Linked DNA regions of Homo sapiens: regions 1 and 2 are each linked to region 3. The links are contacts of gene promoters, found by promoter capture Hi-C in human tissues and cell types (Jung and others, 2019). All regions are on one chromosome and are shown on one strand. The core of a region is centred on a gene start or on the middle of the fragment in contact, and the rest is flanking DNA. Distances in the headings are between cores, read along the strand shown.

Region 1 (4,053 bases), core at 887-3,386, 360 kb before region 3:
GTAATGCAGTTTAATCAGAGTGCCATTTTTTTTTTTGTTCAAATGATTTTAATTATTGGAATGCACAGTTTTTTTAATATGCAAATAAAAAGTTTAAAAACTTAAAAAAAAAAAGAACACGTCTCACTACACCCATTGCACAGAGGGCAGATACTAAGGTCTAAAATGTGAAAAGGTCTTGCCCAAGGTCACTTGGAGAATGGTGGGCAGAGATGGGACTATGAGACGAGAACCAGCCTCCTGCTTCTCACTCTTGGAATTCCTCACCTCAAGTGCCAAGCCCCTAGCCTGCCCCTTCCAGGCCAAGCCTGGAAAGGGACCCCTGTGGTCAGTCACCCAACTCAGTATGGCTAAGCCTTACCACAGGCTGTCCCCTTGGGATCACAGTGGCCTGGCTGTCTGGGCTGGGAGGTAGGAGACCTGGAGGGTTGGGTGTTTGGGTCCACTAACTGCCCTGTGTCCGCAGGCCACAATGCTGCTTGGAGCCTCTCTGGTGGGGGTGCTGCTGTTCTCCAAGCTGGTGCTGAAACTGCCCTGGACCCAGGTGGGATTCTCCCTGTTGTTCCTCTACTTGGGATCTGGCGGCTGGCGCTTCATCCGGGTCTTCATCAAGACCATCAGGCGCGATATCTTGTGAGTACCTGGCCCAGCCTTTCCTGGGGTCTGCCACACTACAGTGAGCTTCTGGTCCCCCAAATCTCCCCAGGCCAGACCTCATGTTCTCTACCAGCACAGGGCAGCTGAGCTGAGTTCCAGAACAGCAGCCTCTGCTCCACACCCGTACCCTGGCAATAGTACCTGGTCCCTCCATCTCCAAGGTCAAAGTCTTCTCCCAGGGAATCTCCCTAACTTGAGGCTCCCAGGCCTTGGGCAGGCTTGGCCTAGGACGTACATTGAACACCAAGTGTGTTGAGACATCTGCAAGGGGTCCTGAGGACTCTGTAAGTTTATGAAAGGGTAAAGAGGAATTTTGGGGAAAGGCCCTGCCCTCAGGTTGGCAGGGGTGTGAGATGGCACAGGGGGCACTGAGTTCTAGAGCAGAGCCCCTACTCAGATGTCTGGGATAACCTGCTCCCCAAAGAAAGCCCGGTATGCTCCAAGGGACATCCTGTACCAGAAATATCTATTCCCGCTTGTTCTCTACTAGGTGCCAGGCTAGCTTTGGGGTCCAGAGAGGAATAAGGCAGACCCCATCTGCCAAGCTCAGATTGGTCAGGAGAAAGAAAGGGACACAGCACATCTGTAAATTGGCAGTGCCATGTGGGCAGAGACCCTGGCACAGCCTTGCTCACTACTGTGTCCCAGCACCCAGTTCAGTGACCCACACCCCACACAGGCAGCTCAGCATTTGTCAATCTTGGTTGATTGCAAAAGAAGGCACGGAGTGGCACACCAGGAAGGGTGGTAGCTGTGGGAGCATGGAGCAAGGAGAAACAGCTGCCAGCCAGGACCCTGGGAATCAGAGAAGGCCTCCTGGAGAAAAAGCGGCTGTACTTGAGAGGCGCCTTAGTGGTGGTGGAAGGAGATGAATCCAACCAGAAGGCACAGCATCAGCAACAAAGGCATGGAGTCCAGGGCTGGGCGCAGTGGCTCACACCTGTGATCCTAGCACTTTGGGAGGCCGAAGTGGGTGGATCACTTGACCTCAGGAGTTTGAGACTAACCTGGGCAACATGGCAAAACCCCGTCCCTACCAAAATACAAAAAAGTTAGCCAGGCATGGTGGTGCACACCTGTGGTTCCAGCTACTTGGGAGGCTGAGGTGGGAGCATCATTTGAGCCTGGGAAGTGGAGGTTGCAATGAGCTGACATTGCATCACTGCACTCCAACCTGGGTGACAGAGTGTGACGCCATCTCAAAAAAAAAAACAAAAAAACAAAGGTGGCAGGAATGGGATGTTGCCAAGTGATTCCACAAACTTATTGAACATCTACTCTGCCTGGCACAGGACCCAGGGGATAGAGTGTTGAATAAGACAGAAGCCTATCCCAGCTAGGCTCACAGGGAGGAAGACTGGACAGACCAGCAAACTCATTCATTATTTACTGTGGTCATGGTGGGTCGAGGGAGCAGCTGGACTGTGGGAGGCCCCAAACAAGGAGTTTGGACTTTTACAGGAAGCTCTGGAGACCTAGGAGGTTTCTGCTGGAGCAGCAGGCTGAGAGGGTAGGAGTAGAACTCTGGAGCCAGAGAGGCCTAGAGTTCAAATCTCAGCTCAGCCACCCTCCATCCATGAAGCTTTGAGCAGGCCACGGCACCACGAGAGCCTTGATTTCCTTCTGTGTAAGGGGAGGGGAATCATACGAACTCTCAGTGTTATTGAGAGGCATCAGTAAGGCAGTGCATGTTCCCAGCAGGAGCCAGGAGATAGAAGTGTTGTAGGGGGTCTGGCTCATGAAGCATAGGCTGGCGAGGCAGCAGCCTGGGGTAGGGTGTCAGGACCCCTCCCTCCCAACCATGGCAGACACAGCGCCCTCTCTTGTTCACACACAGTGGCGGCCTGGTCCTCCTGAAGGTGAAGGCAAAGGTGCGACAGTGCCTGCAGGAGCGGCGGACAGTGCCCATTTTGTTTGCCTCTACCGTTCGGCGCCACCCCGACAAGACGGCCCTGATCTTCGAGGGCACAGATACCCACTGGACCTTCCGCCAGCTGGATGAGTACTCAAGCAGTGTAGCCAACTTCCTGCAGGCCCGGGGCCTGGCCTCGGGCGATGTGGCTGCCATCTTCATGGAGAACCGCAATGAGTTCGTGGGCCTATGGCTGGGCATGGCCAAGCTCGGTGTGGAGGCAGCCCTCATCAACACCAACCTGCGGCGGGATGCTCTGCTCCACTGCCTCACCACCTCGCGCGCACGGGCCCTTGTCTTTGGCAGCGAAATGGCCTCAGGTGAGCCCCAAGGGGGCGGGGGACAAGCAGGAACCCCATGGGATCTTACACAGACCACAGCTCCCTTCCAGCCCTGCCAAGGCTGTGTGGGTCAGTGGTTAAGGGCACAGAGTGGAGTCAGACAGCTTAGGCAGTGCCACGAGTAAACGAGATCCTGGGGAAGGGACTGATTTCTCTGAGCCTCAGTTTCCTCATCCGTCGTTCCTACCTCATACTGTTTTCAAAAAGGTACTTCAGACTGGGCATAGTGGCTCACAGCTGTAATCCCAGCATGTTGGGAGGCCAAGGCAGGAGGATCCCTTGAGCCCAGGAGTTTGAGACCAGCCTAGGCAACATAGTAAGACCCTGTCTCTACTAAGAAATTTTTTTGAGACAGGGTCTTGCCCTGTCACCCAGGCTGGAGTGCAGTGGTGCAGTCACAGCTCACTGCAGCCTTGACCTCTCAGGCTCAAGCAGTCCCTCCACCTCAGCCTCCTGAATAGCTGGGACCACAGACATGCACCACCATGCCTGGCTAAATTTCACATTTTTTGTAGATACTCAGTTTTGCCATGTTGCCCAGGCTGGTCTCAGACTCTTGAGTTCAAGCGATCCACCTACCTCTGCCTCTCAAAGTGCTGGGATTATAGGCATGAACCACCACACCTGGCCTACTAAAAAAAGTTTTTTGTTTTTTTTTGTTTTTTTTGTTGTTGTTGTTTTGAGATAGAGTCTTGCTCTGTCGCCCAGGCTGGAGTGCAGTGGCGTGATCTCGGCTCACTGCAACCTCCACCTCCCGGGTTCAAGCAATTCTCCTGCCTCAGCCTCCTGAGTAGCTGAGATTACAGGCACCCGCCACCACGCCCAGCTAATTTTTTTGTATTTTTAGTAGAGACGAGGTTTCACCATGTTGGTCAGGCTGGTCTCCAATCCCTGACCTCGTGATCCACCCGCCTCGGCCTCCCAAAGTGCTGGGATTATAGGCATGAGCCACCACGCCCGGCCTAAAAAAAGTTTTTAAAAAATTAGCTAGGCTTGGTGACATGGACCTGTAGTCCCAGCTACTCAGAGGCTGAGGCAGGAGGATCACTTAAGACTAAGAGGTTGAGGCTGCAGTGAGTGATGATTGTGCCACTTCACTCTAGCCTGGCAGACAGAGTGAGACCCTGTCTCAAAAAAAACAAA
Region 2 (4,230 bases), core at 458-2,957, 340 kb after region 3:
CTGAGAGTGACCTGTCCACCTCCCAGGTTCTGGGTCCTCTCCTGGGCTGGCTGGCCAGAGATGTTTCCGCTCGCAGGGCCCCTGGTAGGCAGAGGGTCTGTGGGTGTGGGGCTGCCTGCTGGCGGGCAGATGCAGAGGCCTGGGGCCTGATTCCAGGCCTGGGGTTCCAGAGGCAAGCTTTGCTCCTGCCTCCTCCCCCATGGACGCTCTTCTTGAGTGCATTTCTGCATGTTCCCGTGTGCACGTTCTCTTATCTGACTTGGTCATCTGTCTCTTAGCTCTGTGGAGGGGCCCTCTGGTATGTGTGTCCCTGTCCTTCTGGGGCGTGGATGGTGCCTGGGACCCAGCTGGCAACCAGTTGAAGACGTTCTCCTTGGAAGCTCTTGGCCCTGAGGACTTTGCCTGGGGCATTGGCCCTGCCATGGCGTTCCGGAGGGCCGAGGGCACGTCTATGATCCAGGCCCTGGCCATGACGGTGGCCGAGATCCCCGTGTTCCTGTACACGACGTTTGGGCAGGTAAGGATCAGGGTGGGTTGTACCTCTGGTCTATGAAACACTTCCATGCTCAGCCAAGGGCTCCTCCGTGTCCAGGAACGCTGAGCCCTCGTTCTTGCTTTGCCAAACCTCTGGTGTCTCCTCTTTGGACTGGGTTTGTTGTCTGAGGCTTCAGGCCTGTTCTTTAGCCTGAGACTATACGAACTCTTTTTTTTTTAATTAATTAAAAAAATTGTATTGGCCGGGTGCGATGGCTCACGCCTGTAATCCCAGCACTTTGGGAGGCCGGGACGGGCGGATCACCTGAGGTCAGGAGTTCAAGACCAGCCTGGCCAACATGGTGAAACCCTGTCTCTACTAAAAATACAAAAATTAGGCGGGTAGGCTGGGCACAGTGGCTCATGCCTGTAATCCCAGCACTCTGGGAAGCTGAAGCAGGTGGATCACCTGAAGTCAGGAGTTCAAGACCAGCCTGACCAATATGGTGAAACGCTATCTCTACCAAAAGTACAAAAATTAGCCAAGCATGGTGGTGTGCACCTGTAGTCCCAGCTACTTGGGAGGCTGAGACAGAATTGCTTGAACCCAGGAGGCGGAGGTTGCAATGAGCTGAGATCATGCCACTACACTCCAGCCTGGGCGACAGAGCGAGACTCCGCCTCAAAAAAAAAAAAATTAGCTGGGCATGGTGGCAGGTGCCTGTAATCCCAGCTACTTGGGAGGCTGAGGCGGGAGGATCACTTGAACCCAGGAAGCGGAGGTTGCAGTGAGTCGAGATCGCACCACTGCACTCCAGCCTGGGCAACAGGGTAAGACTCCGTCTCAAAAAAAAAAAAGTTTTTCGTAATAGAAATAGGGCCTTGCCATTTTGCCCAGGCTGGTCTTGAACTCTTGGGCTCAAGCCATCCACCTACCTTGGCCTCCTAAAGTGCTGGGTTTATAGGCATGAGCCACTGCACCTGGTCCTATATGAACTCTTGACCTCAGTTACTCAGTCTGTAAAAGGGGTCAGTGCCCTCCCTGACAACTCACATGTTTGTGGCTGACTGGGATCTTGACCGAAGATCTGCCTTGTGGGGTACAGTCCCATCTGAGGGGCTCCCAGGCCTGGGGGGCAGAGGGTGAGGTGCAGCAGTAGGAATTGTTCAGATGGGGTGGCAGGTGAGTGAGTGTCATCATCTTTGAGGCATCACTGAGAAATGGGGGTCAGCAGATCTGGGTTTCATGTCTGCCTCTGTCACCTTGAGTATATGTCTTCATGTGGGTGAACCTCAGGTTCCTCGTCTGGAAATGACAGGGACTCAGATGGGTACCCCAGGCTAGGTCCTAGTGCAGTGCCGGGCACAGCTGGTGCTTGTTCACTGCGGCTTGTGTGCTCATGACTGAGGGTGCTGGCCCCTAGACCTCACCTTCTCGGCACTGGCATCTTGCCATCTTTATGTTTTTGTGGCCTGTGTTTCAGGGAGGCTGGTCAACTTCCCCGTCTAGGGTGGCTGCCTCTCAGTCTCTCATCTGGTCGGCAGATGTGCCGGAGAGCCGGTGTGTGTCCCGTCCCTGAGGTGCTCTGGGGCGGTCCTGCTGCCTTGGACCTTCCCCAGGGAGGTGTAACCGGCAGCGTCTCCTCTTCCCTGCAGTCTGCATTCTCCCAGCTACGGTTGACGCCAGGCCTGCGGAAAGTCCTCTTTGCCACGGCCCTGGGGACTGTGGCCCTGGCCCTGGCTGCCCACCAGCTGAAGAGGCGACGGAGGAGGAAGAAGCAGGTTGGTCCCGAGATGGGAGGGGAGCAGCTGGGCACGGTGCCCCTCCCTATCCTCTTGGCCAGGAAGGTCCCTTCAGTGAAGAAAGGTAGGTGTGAGGTGGTGGGCATAGGCCTGACCTGAGGTCACATCCTGGGGTCATATCCCAGCTGGGTCACTCTCTACTTGGGGATATTGGGCCAGTGTCTTCCTGTCTCAGAGCCAAGGTCTCCTGATCTGTGAGCGGGATGACAGTAGCGTCCCTCCCTCCAGTCACTGTACTGGAGGGTGATGTGGTTGGATGCGCATGCTCCATTGGTGGAGGTGGTTTTGGTTGTTCTCATTAGCTGAGGACCCTTTGGGAGCACCTTGGTCAGAGGGGGTCGGGGATGTGGCTCCTGGGTCCAGAGAGGGATGTTCCCCAGGCTGAGGAGCAGGAAGAGCCATGTGGTTCTTGAATGATGCAGTATTCCTCCCATTCCCTTCTCTCTTAAAAATTGAGGTTTAGGCCGGGCGCGGTGGCTCACGCCTGTAATCCCAGCTCCTTGGGAAGCCGAGGCGGGCAGATCACAAGGTTAGGAGATCGAGGCCATCCTGAATAACACGGTGAAACCCCGTCTCTACTAAAAATACAAAAAATTAGCCGGGCATGGTGACGGGCACCTGTAATCCCAGCTACTCAGGAGGCTGAGGCAGGAGAATGGCGTGAACCCAGGAGGCGGAGCTTGCAGTGAGCCGAGATTGCGCCACTGCACTCCAGCCTGGGTGACAGAGCGAGACTCCGTCTCAAAAAAAAAAAAAATTTGAGGGTTAATTTGCATGCAGTAAGATTCGTACTTTTTAGCATACTATTCTGTGTCTTTGACACATAGAGTCATCCGACCACCACCATAGTTAGGAATCATTCAGCTGGTTGGAAGGTAGTGAGTTCACTCAGTCGATTGCTCACAGTCACAGATCACACTCCTTCTGTTCTCTCTTTTTTTTTTTTTTTTTTTTGAGATGGAGTCTTGCTCTGTCACCCAGTCTGCAGGGCAGTGGCACAATCTCGGTTCATTGCAGCCTCGGCCTCTTAGGTTCAAGAGATTCTCCTGCTTCAGCCTCTCGAAAAGCTGGGACTACAGGCACGTGCCACCATGCCTGGCTAATTTTTGTATTTTTAGTAGAGACGGGATTTCGCCACGTTGGCCAGGCTGCTCTCGAACTCCTGAGCTCAAGTGATCCGCCCACCTCAGCCTCCCAAAATCCTGGGATTACAGGTGTGAGCCACCGCACCCGGCCCCGGCCATCTTTCTACTCTTTTTTTTTTTTGAGACGGAGTCTCACTCTCTGTCACCCGGGCTGGAGTGCTGTGGCATGATCTTGGCTCACTGCAACCTCTGCATCCCGGGTTCAAGCGATTCTTCTGCCTCAGCCTCCGGAGTAGCTGGGACAACAGGTGCGTGCCACCAAGCCCGGCTAATTTTTTGTATTTTTAGTAGAGACAGGGTTTCACTGTATTAGCCAGGATGGCCTTGATCTCCTGAACTCGTGATCCGCCTGCCTCGGCCTCCCAAAGTGCTGGGATTACAGGCATGAGCCAACCTGCCCGGCTTTTTTTTTTTTGAGACAGAGTTTCGCTTGTGTTTCCCAGGCTGGAGTGCGGTGGTCTGGTCTCTGCTCACTGTAGCCTCTGCCTTCCGGTTTCAAGCAATTCTCCTGCCTGAGCCTCCCGAGTAGCTGGGATTACAGGTGCATGAAACCACGCCCGGCTAATTTTTGTATTTTGAGTAGAGTTGGGGTTTCACCATGTTAGCCAGGCTGGTCTCGAACTCCTGACCTCGTGATCCACCCGCCTTGGCCTCCCAAAGTGCTGGGAGCCAGGCATGAGCCACCGTGCCTGGCCCCTTCTTCTACTCTTTTTCCCAGCTTCTCACTACTACACTTAACTAGTCTTAAAAAAAAAAAAGAACTGTTCTATCGTTGTATCACTCTCTAAATGCCCTGTGTCCTTCTGTG
Region 3 (4,073 bases), core at 45-2,544:
CCCTCCTCAGCCTCCCAAAGTGCTGGGATTACAGGCATGAGCCACCATGCCCAGCCAACCCCCATGTCAAAGAACCTACTATGTGCCAGGTGCTTCTGCTAATGTCTAGACCTCAACAACTCTAATGTGTAAATGTCACATTTCGCCTCTGATTATGAAATCTGGGCATGTTTCACAGAGCCAAGTTGCCTTTGCTTATATGTCAATGCCACTTGGGTGATTTCCCATAGCAGGACAACCCAGTGTTGTCCATGGCTCACCAATTTCACTTTTTTCCAGTCCATTATGAAGGAAGTGATTAGTGCAAAGCACAACATGTGGCTTCCTTCATTCAGTAAGAGCACCAGAGCCTGTCTGTTCCAAGTCACTGTCGGTATTTGACCCTTCATCACCTTCCCACCTCCTGGAGGACGCTCCTCCACGAAGTGCTGACACAACCTCCTGTAAACGCAGGATGCCAGGACGGGCTGAATGGCCCGCCATAGACTAGGCAGTGACCAGCACACCTCCCTTGGGCTGAAATAGTGGCGGCTATTTCACCAGGTGTAAATGGCTTTTCTCCCGTGTGGATGGATGGGCTTTTTAGGGTAAAGCCCTAAAAAGTGGCACGGGCTGAACCAGCAAGCTCAGTCTGAGTAAGAGATGGGCCGGAGAGAGGTCTGGTTCATTCATCTGTAATTTGTAATTTATCATAATTTTGGGTGAGGATTTACTTTTCCACAAGTATACGTTCTTTTTTTTTTTTTTTTTTTTTTTTTGAGATGGAGTCTCGCTCTGTCACCCAGGTTGGAGGGCAGTGGCAGGATCTCGGCTCACTGCAACCTCCGCCTACTGGGTACAAGTGATTCTCCCACCTCAGCCTCCTGAGTAGCTGGGATTACAGGCGCCCGCCACCACGACCGGCTAATTTTTGTATTTTTAGTAGAGACGGGGGTTTCACCATGTTGGCCAGGCTGGTCTCGAACTCCTGACCTCGTGATCCGTCCACCTCTGCCTCCCAAACTGCTGGGATTACAGGCGTGAGCCACCGCACCTGGCCTAGTATACATTCTTGTAGTGACTAATATCTAGTCTGGGCCAACCACTCCGAGGAGAGAGACAATTTTGGATTAGCCCACATTACACCAACAACGTGCGAGACAAAGAGAGACTTGAGGGGCTTGGTCGAGGAGGCCCAGCGCGTTAGAGGCGGGAGCCAGGTTGTAGAGGGGCTCAAAGTTAGAGGAGGCGGCCAGCTCCACCGGCTGCACCCGGCTGGGCGACCCGGCAACCTTCAGGGGGCGCTGTTTCCCCCATCCCTGTCCCTAACTGGCCGGCTCCCGCGGGCGCGCGGCGGGGAAGGCCAGAGGACCTGGGCGCGGGCGATGTGCCTCCTGAGCGTCCAAACCGGGGGTGAGGCGCGGTCACGCCCAGCGGGAACCGCAGGCGCCGAAGCCCGGGTACTGGGCCCAGAATCCCGCGGAATTTTGGATCCGAGGGAGGCGCTGGGGCGCGGGACCTCGGGCGTGGGGTCCCGGGCGCTGGATCGGCGCGGACGGGAGGCGGCGCTGGTCCCGCGGGCCAGCGGGTCTCGGGAGGGGGCGCCCGATCCCGCGTCTCCGGCGCCGCTTCCCGGGAAGTTTCAAGTTTGAAAGTCCTGGCGGAGGGTCTGCGGCTTCCGGGACCGGAGTGGCTGAGAGAAGGGCCCCAAGCGGCCGGAGCGGCGCCATGGAGGAGGGGGCGCCGCGGCAGGTGAACGGCGTGGGAGGGGCGCGCGGGCCCGGGGGGTGCGAGAAAGCCTCTGTCATCGCCCCGGAGCCCCGAACCGCGGCCGCTTCCCCCGATCCTCCCCTCACCCGCGCCCCTTCCCTGCCCCTGCCCTGGCCCCGGCCCCGCGACGCCCTCGCAGAGCAGACCTGATCTCCGGGTTCGGTGGTTCCTGGACCTTGCACAGTCTCCAAATCAGTCCGCGGCTGACCCGGAGACTGAACCCCAACCAGCCCGTGAGCGAGGACGGCTGAGTCCGCAGTGTGCGCCACCAGGGTGGTCCCCAGAGTGTCCTTAAGTCGGTTCTCCTCGGTGGGGCTCCAAGGCCGACGGGAATTAGCCGGGATAGAAAGGCGGGGCACAGGGGCCTGGGGGGGTTAGAATGTGCGCGCAGCGGGGGGCGCAGTCTGTGCGCGCTTGGCAGTGGCAGGAGTCCTTCCCGGAGCACAGGAGGCACGAGGGGAGCGTAGATGAGAGGGGAGCGGCCTCCCCCGCCCCAGGGCGGGAACCTTTGGGTACATAGCGGGTTCTAGAATGCGGAGGGGGCTGGGTTTCCTGCCAGAGCTGGCAGTAGGTGCGCGTGGGCCCGGAGGACCGAGGCCATGTCTATCTGCTCCTGAGGAGGGAGAGGTGGTGTCCTGTTCCGGAGCGAGTGGTTGGGAGGGGGGCATTTGCGGACAGGAGTGGGTCCCCGCAAAGAGCGGAAAGGAGGTGGTGTGTGTGTCCATGTTGGAGTTCCAACCCAGGGCAGACGGGACCATGGGGGTGTTGCGGGGTGCGTGTAGACTCCTTGAGCGCCCAAGCCAGTCGTTTAGGCCGCCTTCAGGGCTGGGGCTCGGTCTGCCCCCTCCCACCCCCTTCCTCTGGAGGTCCCTCCGCCTGTTCCAGACGTAGCTTGTACACATTTTCCGATTTCCTGCGGGGCTCCGCCCTGCAGCGGCAGCTGGGTGACTCAGGACCCCGGTGGCCGGGCCCCCAGCTCCATGGGACCTTTGTTTGCTCCGGTCTTTGGCTCTGGCCCTGTGGCCTAGGGCGGTCAGAGGATTTCCTGAGCCTCGCCCTTGCCCTCTGACAGCTGGGCCAGCAGGCCCCGCTGAGGTCTGGGGTGGGGGGGTCCCTGAGTCTGGGGTTGCGGCCCCTTCCACTGGGCTCAGGAGAAGATGGAACACAGAGAGGTAAGATGGGGTTCCTGCAACAGCCCGTGTTGCGGGGCATCATGGGTTACCCGGCCTGAGGTCACCTTTGGCACCGGTTGGTTTGAAATGCTGGCGGCTGGAAAGGAGGTGTTCCTGTTCCTGGCTCCAACCTGGGTGAAGCCGTGAGAGAGCCTTCTACTTCCTCCCGGGAGCTGAGCAGGGAGTGGGCACCCGGAGACCTCCCCAGTTCCTCTCTGTGCCTCTGCTTTGCTACCTGTGGCATTGGGACATCAGGGGAACAAGCCCTGGCTCCCAGGCCCCTGGCTGCCTTCTCATGTGGCTTCGTGTGAACCCCTATTCGGCGTAGCTTTTGTGGCTCCTGGACTCTACTTTGGGTCCCAGATGTAGAGAGAGCAGCCTGATTACCCAGGGCTGCCAGGGACAGCTGGGGCCCGAGAGATGGTGGCCCCTCCTCTGTGTCTTGACTGTGGGCAAGTTACTTCACCTCTCTGGGCCTCAGTTTCCTCACTAGAAAATAGGGGTAATAGTACAGGCGTGGTGGCTCACACCTGTAATCCCAGCACTTTGGGAGGCCAAGGCAGGTGGATCACCTGAGGTCAGGATTCAAGACCAGCCTGACGAACATGGAGAAACCCCGTCCCTACTAAAAATACAAAATTAGCCGGGCTTAGTGGCGTGTGCCTGTAATCCCAGCTACTCAGGAGGCTGGGGCAGGAGAATCGCTTGAACCCGGGAGGCAGAGGTTGTGGTGAACCGAGATCGTGCCATGGCACTCCAGCCTGGGCAACAAGAGCAAAACTGTCTCAAAAAAAAAAAAAAGAAAAAGAAAAAGAAAAAAGAAAATGGGGGTAATGACCACCGCTACCGGGTGGGGTGGCTGGGAGGAGTGATGTGGTAATATATGCAAAGCACTTAGAATAGAACCTGGCACCCATTTACCGTGTGAACTGTCCCCCCCGCCACATCCTTCTCTAACGGGCGGAGGACAGGAGCCTGGCCTAGATGAGTGGCCTCGGAGTTTCCATCTGGCTCAGGCCTGAGCTCTAAGGGGAGAGAGGCTTCCAAAACCCTGTGCGAGTCAGTCCTGGGTGCCGTCCCTTCCTTCGCCTCCATCTGCAGTGAGCAAAGGCTGCTGGTGGCCGCTGCACCCCATGGCTGTTCTCCACCCTC

Evidence for each region. Contacts are between HindIII fragments. The study calls those that stand out against the background at their distance.
Region 1: a contact is called between a fragment that was not itself captured here and the fragment with the promoter of PKN3 in region 3, in 1 of the 25 tissues and cell types used here (dorsolateral prefrontal cortex).
Region 2: a contact is called between a fragment that was not itself captured here and the fragment with the promoter of PKN3 in region 3, in 1 of the 25 tissues and cell types used here (aorta).

What each region holds. Positions count from the first base shown.
Region 1 is chr9:128,342,661-128,346,713 of GRCh38, forward strand. SLC27A4 (solute carrier family 27 member 4) reads left to right here. Exons shown (of 13, transcript NM_005094.4): 2 at 467-633; 3 at 2,495-2,889. The coding sequence starts at 473. It also overlaps the pseudogene TMSB4XP4. Among named protein-coding and RNA genes, the nearest start is that of SLC27A4, 4.2 kb to the left of the region's middle. The HindIII fragment of the contact is 5,235 bases long and covers 1-4,053 here.
Region 2 is chr9:129,040,174-129,044,403 of GRCh38, forward strand. MIGA2 (mitoguardin 2) reads left to right here. Exons shown (of 16, transcript NM_001329990.2): 2 at 279-517; 3 at 2,131-2,341. The coding sequence starts at 422. Among named protein-coding and RNA genes, the nearest start is that of MIGA2, 5.7 kb to the left of the region's middle. The HindIII fragment of the contact is 5,202 bases long and covers 1-4,230 here.
Region 3 is chr9:128,701,209-128,705,281 of GRCh38, forward strand. PKN3 (protein kinase N3) reads left to right here and starts at 1,295. Exons shown (of 22, transcript NM_013355.5): 1 at 1,295-1,731. The coding sequence starts at 1,708. RefSeq lists a silencer at 1,188-1,757 and an enhancer at 1,572-2,111. The HindIII fragment of the contact is 13,608 bases long and covers 1-4,073 here.